5 separate regions of the Homo sapiens genome follow, and all the other regions are linked to region 4. Evidence: promoter capture Hi-C in human tissues and cell types (Jung and others, 2019). All regions are on one chromosome and are shown on one strand. Each heading gives the region's core, a stretch centred on a gene start or on the middle of the fragment in contact. The rest is flanking DNA. Distances are from core to core; before and after follow the strand shown.

What was found. Contacts are between HindIII fragments. The study calls those that stand out against the background at their distance.
Region 1: a contact is called between a fragment that was not itself captured here and the fragment with the promoter of PCDH18 in region 4, in 2 of the 25 tissues and cell types used here (heart left ventricle and mesenchymal stem cells).
Region 2: a contact is called between a fragment that was not itself captured here and the fragment with the promoter of PCDH18 in region 4, in 1 of the 25 tissues and cell types used here (mesenchymal stem cells).
Region 3: a fragment that was not itself captured here is called in contact with the fragment with the promoter of PCDH18 in region 4 in 2 of the 25 tissues and cell types used here (dorsolateral prefrontal cortex and mesenchymal stem cells).
Region 5: a contact is called between a fragment that was not itself captured here and the fragment with the promoter of PCDH18 in region 4, in 1 of the 25 tissues and cell types used here (mesenchymal stem cells).

What each region holds. Positions count from the first base shown.
Region 1 is chr4:137,811,397-137,815,228 of GRCh38, reverse strand. No RefSeq gene overlaps it. Among named protein-coding and RNA genes, the nearest start is that of LINC02172, 270 kb to the right of the region's middle. The HindIII fragment of the contact is 4,270 bases long and covers 1-3,450 here.
Region 2 is chr4:137,996,449-138,000,073 of GRCh38, reverse strand. No RefSeq gene overlaps it. Among named protein-coding and RNA genes, the nearest start is that of SLC7A11-AS1, 91 kb to the left of the region's middle. The HindIII fragment of the contact is 4,525 bases long and covers 67-3,625 here.
Region 3 is chr4:137,266,560-137,270,230 of GRCh38, reverse strand. No RefSeq gene overlaps it. Among named protein-coding and RNA genes, the nearest start is that of LINC02511, 56 kb to the right of the region's middle. The HindIII fragment of the contact is 5,929 bases long and covers 1-3,671 here.
Region 4 is chr4:137,530,948-137,534,795 of GRCh38, reverse strand. It overlaps PCDH18 (protocadherin 18), which reads left to right and starts at 2,302. Exons shown (of 4, transcript NM_019035.5): 1 at 2,302-3,848. The coding sequence starts at 2,708. RefSeq lists an enhancer at 2,274-2,393. The HindIII fragment of the contact is 2,929 bases long and covers 462-3,390 here.
Region 5 is chr4:137,852,400-137,855,955 of GRCh38, reverse strand. No RefSeq gene overlaps it. Among named protein-coding and RNA genes, the nearest start is that of SLC7A11-AS1, 230 kb to the left of the region's middle. The HindIII fragment of the contact is 3,490 bases long and covers 244-3,556 here.

The DNA.
Region 1 (3,832 bases), core at 66-2,565, 280 kb before region 4:
TATTATTTCTAGAGGAAAAGAAATTTTACAGACTGAGTTAATAATAGCGGTGGACAACTGTTTTGTAATTGGTAGGACCTCTATAATAATATAGAAACAAGGCTGATAAGGTGGCTGATGTGTTGGGCTACCATATCAGTAACTTATATTCTGATCTTGACTTTACATTTTTTGTCTTATCTTAATGCACGTTCATAAGTTATGAGCATTTCGCTTTTTCCTTCTCATAAAGCATTTTTTTTTCATGGGTGTTATAAGTGTTGTGAGGGCTACCAAATGAGTAAAAATCATTGCTATATATCTTTAAAGCATCTCAAGGAATGGACGAAGCTTCTATCTTAGGGGTCAGAAATTGTAAGGAATACAGATTAAATAATATTTTTCTTGTAGAGTTAACCTCACAGTGATCCTTAAACAGAGCTCATTTAACTCTGAACAAAATTTTCATTACCAGTTTAAATACAGTGATGCTAACCTATTTGTGAACCCTGGTCAGGGCTACTAATCTCATTGTCATTGCTTGTTAAGAACTTACTTTATTCCTATTACTTAGCATGATGACACAAGCTATTTTAATCCATTCACATTTTAACTTAGCAGAGCATACAAGCAAAGCTAACTTGAATTCCAGAAAAAGATCCCAAGTACCTTATTAATGTATTTTTCTCTTAATTGTACAAAAATAAAAAAGTCATGGAAATCAAAAGTAGGACCTTTTTACCTTCGAGGTATTTACTGTAGTTTCAGCATGTATTAGGCATCAATACAGAAAGATTCCTGGACAATACTTGATGAAGTCTACCCCCTCCCATTCCCCATGTTCATAGGAGCATGACCAGCAGACTAACGCAGCAAGCAGATGATGCTCCTGATGAAAAGGGCAGACCCAGTTGAGCCTGGGCTACGCTGACACAGACTTTGTTGCTCTTCATTTGGCAAAGGTAAATCTGAGTTGAGACTTTTCTTTGAAATGGTTGTGTGGCCATAGAGATGAAAAAAAATTATGTTAGCAAAAGTAAAGTAATTTTTTCTTTCTGAATCGTTTATAAAAATCTTCACAGTTAATCAATTTGATTCAGGGAAAAATCATGTATTGTGTATGATTTCCATGTATTTCATCAAATGTTTCATGACCTCTGTTGCCTAAAGGAAAAAAAATAAAGATTTTTCTCTCCACAATGTTTTAAAAATAACTTTCCAGGTTTTATAATATGTAAGAACTCTAATAATTACAAATCAAGTCACTGGATAAAGATGGCATTTGCTAACTTCTCATTCAAACCTACATATGCTGTTTCTAAGGAAAACACTTTGTTGATGTACTCAGACTGCCCAAGTTTCTGAGAAGTCCAAATCTAAAAATATGTGGTTCGATTAGGGTCTTTAATAACTGGTGTGTTTGTGTGTGGGTGCATGCTAATTTTAATGGCTGTCATCTAATTTGTTTTTAAATGTATATTTGACAGGAGTGATTGAATTAGAACAAGGATGCCATGTAAGGATAAAATATATATCCCATATGCTATTTAAGTTGTCTAGTTACAGGATGATGTTAATATCTATTTGTTTCTGAACAAGCTACTTTATTTTATTTAATAGCCTTTGTAATGACTCTATGCCTCTCTTTCTAAATTTGTGAAGTGGCACTTCCTGATGAAGAGCAATTTGTACCCAGTACATATGGAGAGTTATCTGCCTAACACAGATGCCTGAATAGGAATGAAGGAGAATAAGAATAGAAATAGTGGGAAAAATAAGGTCTAATATTTCCAAACAGGAAAACCCAGAAACTATACATGAAAATATAAAAAGTAAAATGCATGCGGCTAAATCTCACATGGCAAAAATGTATAAAACAACATAAGGACTCAAATTTATTTTCATTTTTACTTGAAAATATACATGCACTGGAGTCATGTGGTTACAGGAGCCCAAGGTCTCTCCAGGTGACTTCAAGCTTTCCTTTAAAACAGAATCTAATATTTTGAGAAATCGAAATAAGGATAGTTCCTCATATTTATTTAAAAAATAACAAAAATTAAATCACCTTGAACATCATTATAGATAGCACTTATTCAAAGTTTAATATGTCCTAAACACTTTGCTAGACATTTCAAATCTCTCCCTCATTTGATCCTTACTATCAGGTAGAAACCATGATTATCTCTATGTTACAGCTGAGAAAACTCTTTGAGAGGCAAATAATTTGTGCAGGATCATTTTGGTGTGCAACAGTAAATATGTATCAGTTATCGATTGCAGCAAAGCTTAGTTACATACAACAGACTGGAGGATTTACGTGCTAGGTGGCTGTCTCACAAGGCTTCCAAAATAGTGTTGACTAATGGCTGAGGGCTTGGTTTTTCTCTTTCATGGGTCTCTCCATGGGGTGCCTCCATTTTCTCTACTCACACTATGGTGGTTCGTTCCCAGAAGCAATACCACAAGACACAGGAAGTGGAAGCCTCCACTTTTTAAGCCCTGGCCCCAGAAAATGGCACAGAATCATTTTAGCCATATACTGCTGGTCAACCTGTCACAGAACCTGGGTTTATGGGGAAGAACATAAACCCTAGTATTCAATGGGAGGAATGGCAAAGCATTCGGGGCTCATATTCTTAAACTGCCACGGTATGACATCTTGCCACAAGTTATTTACATTCTCTTCACATGTAAAATACATTTAACCTTTTTCAAACTCCTAAAACATCCTATCTCATTATGAAATTGGTTTCAAGTTCAAAGTCCAGGGTTTCATCACCTAAATCAGATCCATGTGCAGGTGAAGCTCTTGGAATTTGGCTCCTACGGGACAGCCCGTTGAGTATGGTTCTCCTAATCTAAAGATCTGGGAACTAAAGAAACAAGTTATCTTCTCCCCAACACACATGAAGGAGAAAAAATGGCTGATTTTGTGAGTTTAAACAAAAAAGGAGAAATATCTTGGTATAAACATGCTAGAGGAAAAGCTCTAAAAGCATAGTGAATTTTAAAGTAAATTTCACTGAAAGTTTTAAAGTATAAGAGGAAGGAAGGAGAGAATGGGAAAGCAGGGTGGAAAGGGTTTTATTCTTATCCCAAATGAGGCAGAGAGATTATGGGTTAGAATAGAACAGGGGAACAGGCATAAGATAATTTCCATAAACATTCTCATTAAAAGGGAATAACAGGAGGTACACAGCAGTCACTGGTACATGTCCATTGTGAAATCCACTGGGTCCATTTTGATGACTTAGGCCTTTGATAATCAGGCCTCACTGCTGCTCTCAGGGCATTATTCTCTGTGGTTCTTGTTTCCATGCTCATGGCTCACGGATCTGCCCTCTGTATCCTTGACAGCCAGTTTCCTGCCCAAGAAAGCTTAGATATCCCAAAGTCTTTTTTTCCATTTTTGTCTAAGCTGGAGCTATTTTGACCAAAATAATTCTCTTAAAAATTGTGTGGGTTCTCCATGAATATACTTAGGGTTATCTTTTACACAGAAGTCACAACCATACATCATAAAGGTAAGTCCTTCTCTATCTAGGTTCCCTGTGAAGCTTCTGTGACATAACTTGCTTTAAGACTTTCAAAAACCCCACTGTTTAGTTAAGGAGATTTGTAAGACATGCCTTCTTGATTCGTACAGGACTTCCTGTTTGACTGAAAGGGTTTCTGTATTATCACCTCAGTTCTTTCTTAAATATCAACAAGAAATCTTATAATCTCACCCAGAATTAGATTTTAGGCATTAGAGTATTTATTATTTTAAGAATTTTTCGTCGTATGGAAAGATTTGGAAGAAGAAAGAGTTTTTTTTTTTTTTAAGTTTAGCAAGTTCTGGCTCCTTTAG
Region 2 (3,625 bases), core at 1,080-3,579, 470 kb before region 4:
ATTATAATTTTTAAGTTATTTGTGATTTATTTTATATCAACATATCTTCATTTCAGTGTAATATCAACTCATGGATTTTCATTCTTATTTCATACATGCCACATTTCCTTGCGTTTTCTTTTCGGAATGGCAAATGGCTTCCTGAAACTTCTTTTCTGGTTACAACAGTAGAATATTTTTAGAGGTGTTTACTTTTTATAAATATTCAGATGGTTATATGACACCCCTCCCCGCTTTTGTGTATTATTCATCCACCTTGAGGAATCTTTTATTGTTTTAATTACACTAAATGAGATGAGCTCCCACAAGATTCAGTTTTGGTAAAGAGGTAAGGGGCTGGTATATACTTGCCTCAGTTCTCTGTTGTCTGGATGGCAAGACTGGTGAGAAGATTGATTGGTTGCATTTTTTCCCGGACCCATAGCTAGAGAGTTTAGGTTGACATATTCAACTGTCGCTCTAATAATACTCAATTATTTCTGGAAAATACACTCCTTTGAAATCTTTTCCTCCCTCTTAATCACTCTGAAAAGACACTATGACAAAAAAACAGTCAAAATCTTCAGTTCTCCAAACTCAGGGTCGTTAGGGTTCTTTTCTCAAAATTATCACACTTGACTTTTTGGGACTATTTATCCCAAAAAGCAGGGTAATATTATCAGCACTTCTCCATCACCCATCCTCTCCAGCACCCATTTTCTCATCCTGCCCAGTTTGTTCTAGGTTTGTTGGCTTTGAAGACTAGCTATTTAAGAACTAATGCAGAAAGGGGATGGAGAAAGATGCTCTGACTCAAAAATAATTCATTAAGAAGACAATTGCCTTGTTTTTCTGGTTGGTATACATTCTAGATCTAAAGCAGGAGGTAACTTGCCAATTTGTGAATCTGTGTGTCATTAGATTGTATATTACTGAAGCAAAGTTAGGATTTGCTACAACCAGTGCTAGTTTTTTAGTAACAAGTAAATATTCTCTCAAAATTCTGTAATAAGTTGTCTGAGTTTTTAAGGGTTTTAAGGCTTCACATTTCTATGTCATTTAAAACATTTTAGGAATCTGAAAGAGGTAAAGCAGATGACATGTAAGCTTAAAAATCTATGATCTAGGTTTACACCTCACTTGTTTTGAGACACATTCCCAGAATTTTACTGCAGCCTTTTGTCTTAGATCCAAGTTGTGAGAGTAGAACGCTCATTGTGATCTCTGTTCTAAACTTAGTATCAAATAAGGTCTGAAGTCTGCAGACAATTTAGCCATGTTGTTTCAAAGCTGTTCTACTGGGAAAATTTGTGGCCATCAAAATATGTAAAAAATGTGTGCTCAACAAATTAAACAGTAATGGTATTCTAGTAGAACTCTGAATACCATTTCAAGTGGGTAGGTATAATCATAATGAAGCATTTGGCAACGTGTGCTTGATATTTTAATGTGTGTAGAAAAAATAAGTTATAACTCAACTTGATTACTCCAACACAGAAATTAAATTAAGTACTGAACTTGAATTTGAGACCTTGAAACTACATGAGCTCAGCAACTGCTTTGTTTGTAAGTCCTTAATAAAGATGCATAAAATTTCCAGTGGTATAGAGAACATAATTTCTGACCTTGGGAAATTTGCAATCTGATGGATATTCCAACCTTCTGATGTTATGCAGACCAATAACTCAACATATTTTTTAAAAAAGGAAAGTCATAAACATAGCTGATCCTTGTAATGCTGATTTTTTTTTATTTAGCACAAGAAAAAGAAAGCTGCAATAAAAATAGAAAGGAAATGGTATATTTTTCTGTAAGTGGTAAATGACTTGAAAAAATTTATACATACAATGTTTCATCAAATCAATATTTTAAATGACTTTGTTTTAGAAGTTTGCTATCAGTAATAGCCTACTGACTACACTAAACTTCCAAATGCTGAAGAGCTCGTGATACTCAATACATAGTTTGAGTGATTAAATGAGCACATATAAAATGTTGTTAATTTAGAATAAGAACCATGGTTTCCCTTCCTTTTAAAAGGTTTTCTATGAAAGAGGTTTTCGAAAATTTTTTAAGCCTTTGTGAAACTTCAAAAATGTATACAGGTAAATAAACTCTTCTTTTTATGCATTGATTTAAAAATAGGCAATTGACTAGTGCTTTAAAAATCATTCTTTGGTTCATTACTAATCTCTTAATGTCTACTAAGCTTACTGCTTTCCTGCTACTCAGTAAAATCTATTAGAGGTTGCTATGGATCTTTGTAATGTGGGATTTTTGTAATGTGGGATTTTGTAAATGCTAGAAGCAGGTAACAGGCTGCCGGGTAACAGGCTAAGAATCTAGGAGGGAACACAATATGAGTTTCAACATGCTAGATTAATCCCATTTGCCCTTACATGTCAGCTCTCTACTCTTTTTTGCCCTGTTCTCTGACCCTAGAAGGTTAAGTGAGGTGAACAGCATTACTGGTTTCTAATAGGCTTTTGCCAGTGGAGAATGCAAGCAGCATACTATAAGAAGCAGGGAGTGAGGGATGGATGCTGTGTCCTTTGAGAGAAGATTACAACTCCTCTCAAGGCAGCTCTTCTTTGAAACTGTAGCATCCTCCCCTCCTCTGGCCTAGCCATGGAGGCATGGGGACAGCCCTGGGGTTCTACCTTATCCCTAATGGTTTTTCTACAGTACACCCTGTAGACTTGTTTATAAAAACTTTGTTAAATCCTTTGAGAATAATAATGATTTGAATATTAAATCTGTTTTGTTTGGGCCCCCATGAGAAGAAGGTTTTGAGTGGTACTTATGAAAACTTGAAAATATAAGAATGCATAATCTGCCTTATTCAATGTAGACAATGTTTATTATCACTTCAGATTTTTAGAGAATATTGATTAATCTTCTCTGAATACCCTTGCTTATTCTAGGTTTCATTTGTGAAGGTATAGAAGAAAGAAAAATATAATTACTGACTTTAATTGAAACTAAGTACTGATGAAGACAATAACAAAATTGCTAACTAGGAAAACATAAAGAACTTAATTGCTAAAATCAATATTTCACAAAATTTTAATTGGTCTTAATATTTAAGGTAGACATTTTATAAACTATTAATTGTAATATCTTTCAATGAAATATCATTTTCAACATGCTCAAAGAGGTACCAATGATTTCTTCTCCATTATTCTAAGCAAACTGAGCCTTCTTTGGCAGTAGCAATGACATCATTTGGATCCTAATTGAAATAAGAGTGCCTATTTCTTACTTTTATGCCCTTGACTACAGCACTAAAGCATCACCTTTCTGAAAAAGACTCAAACATGATAAGATAATTTTTAGAAAGCATCTAGGAAAATAATAAAACCACCTTTAAATTTTTGTTTAAATGTCTGTAAAGCATTCTTCCCCAAAGGAATGATGAAGAAACAAAAGAACCACTCATTCACTGCAGTTTTGTTTTTGCCTCTCTGTCTCTTTTCTGCAAGTGGATTTATCAGAAAGAATGCAATGAACATGAATTATGAAGTAAAATCTTTCCATGGGAAATTCTCACAGACATGTAAATTAATGGAAAAAAAATCTCTCAATTTCAAAACGCTAAACTCTGAATATTTTAAGGAAATGAAATTAGTTCTACTGCCTAAAATTG
Region 3 (3,671 bases), core at 797-3,296, 260 kb after region 4:
AGGTTCACCCCTTTTTGCTCTCTATCTTCTGTCATGGAGGGACATACCATTCCTCCCCTCTCACAAACACAGCATGCAACTCATCATTTTGGAAGGAGAGAGCAGTCCTTTCCAGACACTGGATATGTTGGCACCTTAATCTTAGACTTCCCAGCCTCCAGAAATGTGAGAAAATAAATTTCTGTTTTATGTAAATTATCCAGTCTCAGGTGTTTTGTTATAGAAGCATAAATGGACTAAGACATGCAAATACTTCACAGATACATAAAATATGAGATATTGAAGAGAGAAATCACAGAAAAATAAATTCAAATGTTTTCAAAAAATAATTTTTGTGAGTCTTCAAACTTACTCGTGAGACATGCAAATTAGAAATAAAGCAAGATTTATTTTTTATATTTATGATTAACAAACATGCAAAATGATGAGAAAATATTCTTTCCCAAACTAAGGAGAAACAGGTTCTTTCATACATAGATGGTGGGAGAAAAAATGGTGTACTTCTAATGAAACAAGTTTTAGCAATATCTCTAAATAAATGCTTCTAGCCTATGAACAACACATCTCACTGGGAATTTATCTTACATATGTTTCTGCATAGATTGGATAAAGTATTGCATAAAGTAATACATTGAAATATAGTCTGTAACACCAAGAAAGTGGGAACAACCCAAGTATTTATTAATAAAGGACTACTAAAATAAACTATAATACCATTATCATAAAGCAGAAAAAGATAATAAGATAACTTTCTATATTATAATATTAAAGAGCTCAAGATACATATGATGAAAAAGCCAATCTTTAGAATACTGTATAGAGTAAGTTTTATTTTTTGGAAGAAAGAGGAAAGTAATTGTATACAATTATAATTGCATAAAGCCACCTTGGAGTGATGCATCCAAAAGTAATGACAGTGGTTACCTCAAAAGCATTGAGGTGGGCTAAATTAGGCTGACAGTGATGGGTAGGCCTTCAACATGTTCTTTAAAATTGTATGCCTCTTGCATTTTGAACTATATGAATATATTACATATCCTAAATGAATGCAAATGGAAAATATATAAAAATTTAAAAGGCAGTTAGTCAAAATATTATATTCATAGCATTTTTGTTGCTGAAATAGTCCCAAACCCCTTTTTTTTAACTGATGAAAGAACATACTGAGGCATATGGCTTTGTCAAGTTCACAAAGAGATTTTCAGAACAAATTAGACCTGCAGTAATATACATTGTTAACATCTGGCTAATGTTCCGGTGAGTCTTTCTAAGACACATCCTCAAGTTCAGTCTTCACAATGGAGGCTGCACATTGTCAGGGAAATATGTATATCCAGGTTGAGAGTCAAAATGGAAGTGCATTTGCCTTCTTGCTCAGATTATCATATGTTACAAATAAATGTGATAGGTCAAGATAAAACCCATAAAGTTGATCTACAAGGACCAACTAACAAACAAAATTAAAGGAGGTGTGCAACATGTGGAAATGTTCCTCATAAGTATCTATGGTACATCTGTGAATGGAAACAAAATCGTATGCTCTTAGGTGTGCTTATCGAGATAGGAAATAGACATGAGTAATTTGCTTGTAAGGTGAGATTGTGCTATCTTAAATGCAGCAGAAATGTTACAATTGAACATTATCAATAAAGTGAATAAAAAAGTTTCTCTTTCATCAAATCTTCTAGGCTCTAGAGTTGAAGTTTTAAAAAATGAATGTTAACTTTATATTATAAAATATTATCTGTTGACTTTCACAAAGTTTTTAAATTATTAGTTTATATTTTTCCAAGTTACTCTAGTATTATATTGAAAATCTCTTAATAGCATGTTTTCATGATCTCTGAATGTCATAAAGAGTTGTAGTTTTTTCATGTTTCTATAATATATATTTAACTGTCACCATAATTGCAAGTTTTTAATCTTAAACTAAAATTTTGTTCATTATGCTACAATGAATCAAGGAATAACATGAATGAACAGACACAAAATATTCTTTTTCTGTTTTTAATCTTCATCTTAAAGTATAATTTCTATGAAACAGCAGAGTTTACAAGGGATTAAATTAATATGGAAAGCTTTAAATCAAGACCTATTATCTATATTCATAGTGTTTAGGAATATAAGACTTTAGAATTAATCCTGGATTTTTGTTTCTCTTTTCCATTACTCTCCTATGGTATGTAATGCAATGTTTTGTTTTGTTTTGTTTTGTTGCTGAAAAAGGCATTAAAAACTCCCACTGGGAGCTGAAAAATATAACAGTGGTTTTCCAAAATGTAGATCGAGGAAAATTAGTTTGTTTCATATTTTTTTTTTGCACCATGCTCTGGGGTCTTTTGATCACCTATTATTTATCCTGCTGGTGAGGAAGATATCGTCTCCTTTACCTAATATGAAAAAAAAAACAAATATATGATGACCAATATTGCACAAATGAAATCAAACAAGTTTATTGTTAAAACATACCCATAGCTCCAGAGTAGTATCAGGCATGACACAAGGCCATGCAGAGGGTGCACAGGGGACAAAGCTGAACAAGCAAGGGCTGTGGGAGGCAGGCTTGGTAGTAATGAGAGGGTGAAGTACCTGAGAAAGATACGAACTTGTTCTAATAACTTGTTTGAGGTGGCAGGCATAAAAAACCTGTTAGGTTGAGGACCAGATGGCGAGCAGCTGCCTCACCTGATCCAACTAGCTGGGTCAGAGTATGTCTGTTGAGAGCAAGGAGACTCACCTTTAGGCCTTTTGTGCCCCACAAGGTTCAACAATGTGAAAGCAGCGGCATGTGAAATTGTAGGCTTATAATACTTAAGATTGTAGTCTAAAATATTATAGTAGTCCTCCCTTATCCATTGATTCACTTTCCGTGATTTCAGTTACCCACAGTCAACCAGGGTCCAAAAATATTACATGGAAAATTCCAGAAATAATTCATAAGCTTTAAATAGTGTGCCATTATGAGTAATATGATAAAATCTCACACCATCTCACTTGGTTCCACCCATAACATGAATCATCACTTTGTCCAGTGTATCCAAGCTGCACACACTACCCACTTAGTATCCCTCTGGGGTATGATATTAACTGTTGCGGTATCACAGTGTTTTTGTGCAATTAACTCTTTACTTAATAATGGTGCCAAAGTGCAAGAGTAGTGATGCTGGCATATTGTTATAAATGTTCTACTGTATTTTTAGTCATTGTTGTTAATCTTTTACTGTTCCTAATGTAGAAATTAAACTTTATCATAAATATCAATATATAGGAAAACATATAGTGTATGTATAAGCTTTGGCACTAGCACAGTATTAGGCATCTACTGGGAGTCTTGGAACAAATATATTTCCATTTCTCCCTGTATTAGTCAGGGTTCTCTAAAAGGACAGAACTAATAGGATAGATGTATGTATGAAGGGGGGTTTATTAGGAGAATTGACTCACACAATCACTAAGTGAAGTCCCACAACAGGTCACCTGCAAGCTGAGGAGCCAGGAAGCCAGTCCAAGTCCCAAAACCACAAAAGAAGGGAAGCTGATAATGCAGCCTTCAGTCCGTGGCTGAAGCCTGAGAGCCCCTGGCAAATCACTGCTGTAAGTCCAAGAGTCCAAAAACAGAAGAACTTGGAGTCTGATGTTCCAGAGCAGGAAGCATCCAGCATGGGAGAAAG
Region 4 (3,848 bases), core at 1,053-3,552:
GAGTAGATACATGTGACTTCTCAGGAAGAGATTGGGAAGCTGAAAAGGAAATAATATGTGGTAAGGATGATATTGCAAGTGAAAAAAGCCACTGTTGGTGAAAGAATGCCAAGTTCTTTAAATACTTACTCATAGAAACATATCATTTTGGAGGATATATTATTTTACAAGTTATTTAATATTTCAGTAAGTTACAGTGAAGCTCTTTTTCACAATGATTATTTCTGTTCAAGCCCACTGTCAGAAATAAAAGAGCTTTTTATTATTTTTACTTTTTAAGCATAAAAAAAATCCGTATCAAGGTAATCAAATCGATTGCTCTTGAAGTTTTTTGGGGGGTAGACTTATCAAATTCTGAAAGAAAATTTTCCTAGAACTAATGGAATTAGGTTACCTTTGAATTCTCACCCCAACTTTGAATAGTCACTAATTCCTTTCTTTGCTCTTTTGGTGTTTGCAAAGGGGTTCGCTAAAGCCTGAATTGATATAATTATTGGCTCAGATTGTTAGAGATCTAGGCCAGATGGCTATGGGTTTCTAAAGTCCCCCTTGCTTGTGGTAGTTTTCCTAGTTTGCCTATAGGGTTTGGGGATCAGCAATTTGAAAGGGCTACAAACTTGTAAAACAGTATTATTCATGGGGGCAGAATGTTCATCAGCGTGACCCAGTACTAAATACATTCATTATAGGCATTTCTATTCTGCACAATTTGCCACACAGCACTGATTTCAGGAGGGGGAAAAAAAGACAATGGCTTATAAAATGCTTTTGAATGCCTAAAAAGAAGGAGAATTCACGCTGAGACTCCTCTGCTTTCTTTTTTGGAAAGAGCCTTCTTAGTGACTTTAGCTGAGCTCTGCTGAGAGTAAGCAAAGTGGAAAAATCAGAAAATTACTTTTTTTATATGTTTCTGGGGGGCAAAATAGACAGTGAGAAAAAATAAATGGAAAAAAGTGACAATGACATTCTGTGAAACAGCAAATATGCAAGCGGATGAAGACAGCTGAGGAATAAGGAAAAAGGTATGAAAAAAAGCAGCAAAAATGGAGCCACGATGATAAACTTAAAAGGAATTGCAGAGCAGAAAGAACATCATAAATAATCATATTTTCAAATAAGAATACCGTATCAGTTTCTGTGACCTGGATAGAGCACAAGCCTCCCATGATATTTCCTAGCATTTTGATGCATACAAAATGCAATTTTCAGCTCAGGCATTTGATTTGTCAGTGTAAACAACCTTTGGGGTTTTTAAAATACATATCTGAAGTGTTTTCATAAATAATGCATATATTATAAAAATTTGACTTGTAAACTATTGAGTCCATGTCCCCCCTGTATTCACTGCAAAGACTAGCCATGTATAGATAGTGCCTTTTGGTAGAAATTGGCATGCTAAAGCTTGCAGTGTCTTTTACCCAAGATAAATAGGATTTTTTTGAAGTACAGGACAAAGAAATATTACAAACAATTTTGCCCAAACTCAAGGAAAGAAATCATACAAGGTAGAACTATATTGTTAATTAGTTCCAAATTCTGAGGTGTTCCCTTAAGTCTTGCTAATTAAGAGAAATGAAGAGTGCAAGATAGCCCTTTTTTTATCTTCAAAGAATAAAGATGAAAGAAAACAGAAAATGAAACCTCTTTACTTGCTCCGTTCTTTAAAAACAGAGCCCCAAGAAAATCTGCTTGTGCTCCTGGAAGGAGAAAGGCCCAAGTATTTACAGAGGGAGTGGGGAAGGAGGTGGTCTGAGAAGCATAATTAGAAGCAAGTTTTCAAATTGTATTAAATTCCTCCACCAACAAAACGCACTTAGAGGTATTTTAAGTTAAACTAGCACTTAAGGACTATGAAAAGCAAGATGATTACATGTCTGTGGCAGAAGAAAGGGCAATTAAGAAAACAAGAAGAATTTAACGTGCCATATAAATAAAGGCGACCAGAAGTTGATTTAAAGTTTTTCTTCTGTAATTTGTCTCCCCTTTGTCATGGCACGCTCAGAGAAAGTGAATGCAGTAGATTGAAAGGCGGAGGGGGAGTGGGGAGGAAGAAGGAAGGAACAGGGAAGGACTGGCTCCCATCTCCTCCCCCAGCCCCCACCAGCCCATCTCCCCTTCTCTCCCTCGCGCACCCACCCCCGCCTTCCTCCTTCTCCGTCTCTTTCTCTCTCCCACCCTCCACTCTCGCCCTCCCTCCTTGGGTGACTCCATCAGCTTTTGATTTGGAAGCACGCTGATTGGCTGGAAGCGATTCAACACACGCTGGGCAAGAGCTTTGTCTGAGTTGAAGTGAAGTTGTACAGATTTTAGACTGGAGTCAGCAATCACGGGTGTTTAGTCTGCAGCCGAGCAGCTAAAGGGAGAAAGAATCGCTCAGGAAAGACACACTGCAGACTCCACCGGCACCCTGCAATAGATGGATTCCGACTACACAAGGGAGAAAACGCGGAGGTGACACTCTCCTGCCTGGAAAGAGGACGAACGACCAAACAAACGCAAGGACTGGACTCCATGCCGAAGGTATCTGGAAGTCGTGACACGGTGTGTATAAAACAAAAGTTTGCGAGCTGTTAATTGCTGTGCTGTGTTATTAAGAGACGCTTTCAAGTTTCAAGTACCAAATGTAGCTTTACGTTGCCAAAGGAAGTTGAGGCAATTGCTTTGCTGTTTTAACTTGCTCTGTGAGGGAAATCTCATAAACTGACCAATGCACCAAATGAATGCTAAAATGCACTTTAGGTTTGTTTTTGCACTTCTGATAGTATCTTTCAACCACGATGTACTGGGCAAGAATTTGAAATACAGGATTTATGAGGAACAGAGGGTTGGATCAGTAATTGCAAGACTATCAGAGGATGTGGCTGATGTTTTATTGAAGCTTCCTAATCCTTCTACTGTTCGATTTCGAGCCATGCAGAGGGGAAATTCTCCTCTACTTGTAGTAAACGAGGATAATGGGGAAATCAGCATAGGGGCTACAATTGACCGTGAACAACTGTGCCAGAAAAACTTGAACTGTTCCATAGAGTTTGATGTGATCACTCTACCCACAGAGCATCTGCAGCTTTTCCATATTGAAGTTGAAGTGCTGGATATTAATGACAATTCTCCCCAGTTTTCAAGATCTCTCATACCTATTGAGATATCTGAGAGTGCAGCAGTTGGGACTCGCATTCCCCTGGACAGTGCATTTGATCCAGATGTTGGGGAAAATTCCCTCCACACATACTCGCTCTCTGCCAATGATTTTTTTAATATCGAGGTTCGGACCAGGACTGATGGAGCCAAGTATGCAGAACTCATAGTGGTCAGAGAGTTAGATCGGGAGCTGAAGTCAAGCTACGAGCTTCAGCTCACTGCCTCAGACATGGGAGTACCTCAGAGGTCTGGCTCATCCATACTAAAAATAAGCATTTCAGACTCCAATGACAACAGCCCTGCTTTTGAGCAGCAATCTTATATAATACAACTCTTAGAAAACTCCCCGGTTGGCACTTTGCTCTTAGATCTGAATGCCACGGATCCAGATGAGGGCGCTAATGGGAAAATTGTATATTCCTTCAGCAGTCATGTGTCTCCCAAAATTATGGAGACTTTTAAAATTGATTCTGAAAGAGGACATTTGACTCTTTTCAAGCAAGTGGATTATGAAATCACCAAATCCTATGAGATTGATGTTCAGGCTCAAGATTTGGGTCCAAATTCAATCCCAGCCCATTGCAAAATTATAATTAAGGTTGTGGATGTTAATGACAATAAACCTGAAATTAACATCAACCTCATGTCCCCTGGAAAAGAAGAAATATCTTATATTTTTGAAGGGGATCCTATTGATACATTTGTTGCTT
Region 5 (3,556 bases), core at 739-3,238, 320 kb before region 4:
CATTTCTGTTGAAAAGACTGTGGTTTATACAGGGCACTCTTGTCTCCTTTCTTTGGGGATAGGGAAGCTGAAATCAAGGTTGAATACAAAGTCAAGAACAAAGGTCATAGAAGGCAATTTAATATTGTCACTAGCCAGAATATGAAGCCAATTGTTCAAGCACCAAAGGGATGAAATGAGTCAAATTATTAAATGGTAGTAGAGGTAGCACAGTGATGGATAAGTAACCAGCATCCACGTTGACCCTGTTAAATTTTGTGTATTTGTGCTAAAAAGAATTGAATTGCCCACTGCATTTAAAGAGTAATAGATGAAGCACACATAAATGGTAATGCTTTTAATTATAAACTCATTTTATATTATAAAATAATATAACCAGATTATAAATATCGAGAAAATATACAAGAGAAATGACATTCATAATCTTATGCCTTTGGTTACATCTCTGTAAACATTTGGTCATCTTTTGAACAAACTTAGACTCTTCTGTCCCTGCTGTTCCAAATGATTACTATGTATGTTCATGCTCATTTCACATTGAAGTTGTAACAAGTTACCACAAATTGAGTGGCTTATAGGAAAGCAAAGTTTTATTTCATATATATGGAGGTCAAAGTCTAAAAAAGAGTGGCAGGGCTGCATTCCTTCTGGAGGCCTTAGGAGGCAATCCATTTCCTTGCATTTTCTAGATTCTAGAGAATGCCAGCATTCCTCAGCTTATGTCCCCTTCCTTCATCTTTAAAGCAGTAGTGTAGCATGCTCTAATCTTTCTTTCTGTTCCTTTGCTTCTGTCGTCACTTCATCTTCTGTCTGATTCTAATCCTGTCCCACTCTTAAAAGGACCCTTGTGATTATCCAGGCCAACCTGGATAATTCCGGATAATCTCTCCATCACAAAATCCTCAAATTAATTACATCTGCAAAATTTCCTTGACCATGTAAAGTAACATATTCCCAGGTTTTGAGGATTGAGACATGGACATTGCTGTGGGAGAGGGAGTCATCATTCAGTCTATCACACCATGGTTTCTTCTGGAACCAACGAGCAGAAAAGCTAATGACAAATAATATATCAGTAACCCTAAATTTACAAATTATCAGAATTTGAAAATAATTTCTTTTATTTGCTGCAGATTGACTTCTCTAAGGAACTACCTCAGAACTATGTATGTGTGAAGTATACTGGGGAAGGCTCTAAGAAACACCTGTGAGAGTAAAGGAAGCAGCATTAGTCAGAAGTTTAACTGGGATGCAACAGAGACCTCATCCAATCTCAGAGACAGCTCTGAAGCTGAAATGCATGTGGGCTTTGCCTTTGTGTTCTTCATTGGTGCCGCTGTTGGGGAGTGTGAAGCAAAATCTTGAGAAAAGCAACTTCTTTTTGCACAATTATGAGGTGTCAGCAGCCAACAATGCTGGCAGCTAGGGACTGGGTATCTTGGACTTGAAAGTGTATCTGGTTAGCTTGCCACAGCAAACACTATGCTGATCCTCTAGCAAAGGTGTGTCAGGAATTGGTGGGTTCTTGGTCTCGCTGACTTCAAGAATGAAGCCGTGGACCCTCGCGGTGAGTGTTACAGTTCTTAAAGACGGTGTGTCCAGAGTTTGTTCCTTCAGATGTACAGATGTGTCCAGAGTTTCTTCCTTCTGGTGGGTTCGTGGTCTCGCTGACTTCAGGAGTGAAGCTGTGGACCCTCATGGTGAGTGTTACAGCTCTTAAAGTCAGCACGGACCCAAAGAGTGAGCAGCAGCAAGATTTATTGCGAAGAGCGAGAGAACAAAGCTTCCACAGTGTAGAAAGGGACCCCAGCAGGTTGCCACTGCTGGCTTGGGTGGCCTGCTTTTATTCCCATATCTGGCCCTACCCACATTCTGCTGATTGGTCCATTTTACAGACAGCTAATGGGTCCGTTTTATAGACAGCTTATTGGTCTGTTTTGACAGAGTGCTGACTGGTGCGTTTACAATCCTTTAGCTAGACACAAAAGTTATCCAAGTCCTCACCAGATTAGTTAGACACAGAGCGCTGATTGGTGTGTTTACAAACCTTTAGCTAGACAGAGAGTGTTGATTGGTGCGTTTACAAACCTTTAGCTAGACAGAAAAGTTCTCCAAGTCCCCACCCGACCTAGAAGCCCAGCTGGCTTCACCTCTTAATGGGACTCACGAGGGGCTTTGCAGCACCTAGCCAAGGCACTCTGGCAGCCCAGAGGGAGCTCCTCCCCTGATCAAGTCCAGCAGGCGTGGCCTGCCGGCCAGAGGGCGGGGCCTGAGGAACCCGCGCCCATCCGGAACCCGCGCCGGCCTGCAAGCGCCGCGCGCCTCTCCCTCCACACCTCCCCGCGAGCAGAGGGAGCCGGCTCCGACCTCGACCAGCCCCAGAGAGGAGCCCCCACAGTGCAGCGGCAGGCTGAAGGGCTCCTCAAGCGCGGCCAGAGCGGACGCCGAGGCCGAGGAGGCACCGAGAGCGAGGGCTGCTGGCACGTTGTCACCTCTCAAAGGTATAATCTACAATTAATGAAAGCATATAAATAGCTAACCATCCCACCACCTTTCTTCATCTAGGGTATGAATTTTCTCTTTCACCTTCCTCACAAGGTATTGAGTCCCATAAGGAGGATTCAATTCTCTTTACCAGTCTGTTCGACAAGCAGTTGCCTGGTCTTTCTCTTGATCTTTCAAGCTCCATTTTTTAGGAGCTAGTTCTTTTTTTTTTTTTAATTGTTTTCGTACATGAATCTTGTAAATGGCATGGTTCTATATCTGACATGACTATTCTACTGAATTACTACAAGCTCTCATATTTGCTGTACTTTTAAGTTCCTACTATGCAACTCCACACAACTCTATACAGCTCATTCATTTACTTGTTTTATTTGTTCATTTCTTCATTGCTTTACTCAACAAATATGATACCAAATAAGGGTCAGGCTTAGTAAATAAAAAAGGTATCCCCACTCTCCTTATAGGGATTGTAATGTTCAAAGGAAGATTCATAACAATAATGAAAACAAGAAGTTAATTGGGCTTCCTTCAGGGTGTGAAAGGCGAAGAAGAGAAGTTTTTCTATCCTGAATACAATATAGTACGATCTAGAAAATCTACAAAATCACAACTTTTCTTGAATTGATCAGCGACCTGTGGTTGTAGGGCAACCAACAAAGCCAATATCTAAGGAAAGGCAGACACCTCCAAGGAGAGACATGATGCTAGCTCTTGTTTGCTTACAGTAGACAAAGAACACCAGGCAGGCAGGTAAGAACTCAGTTAAAATTTTTAATAAATTGCTAAATGTTGAGCATAGGAGAATGTGAGCATATAGAAGTATTAGAAGCCACACATACAAAGGGAATTTGGAGAGATTCACAGGTTCTTCCCCACAGGCCTCACTGTGAGCTCATGATGAAAAGTGAAACAAAAACCCTCAGAAAAACTCCTCTCTGAAGCTTGCCTGGGAAAGACGTACAGCAGCATCTAGGCCCCTATCTTCCCTATGAAACCAAAGCTTTAACCTAGTAGGGTTAGGGAAACCAATCATATCACTTTTAGGACAAGG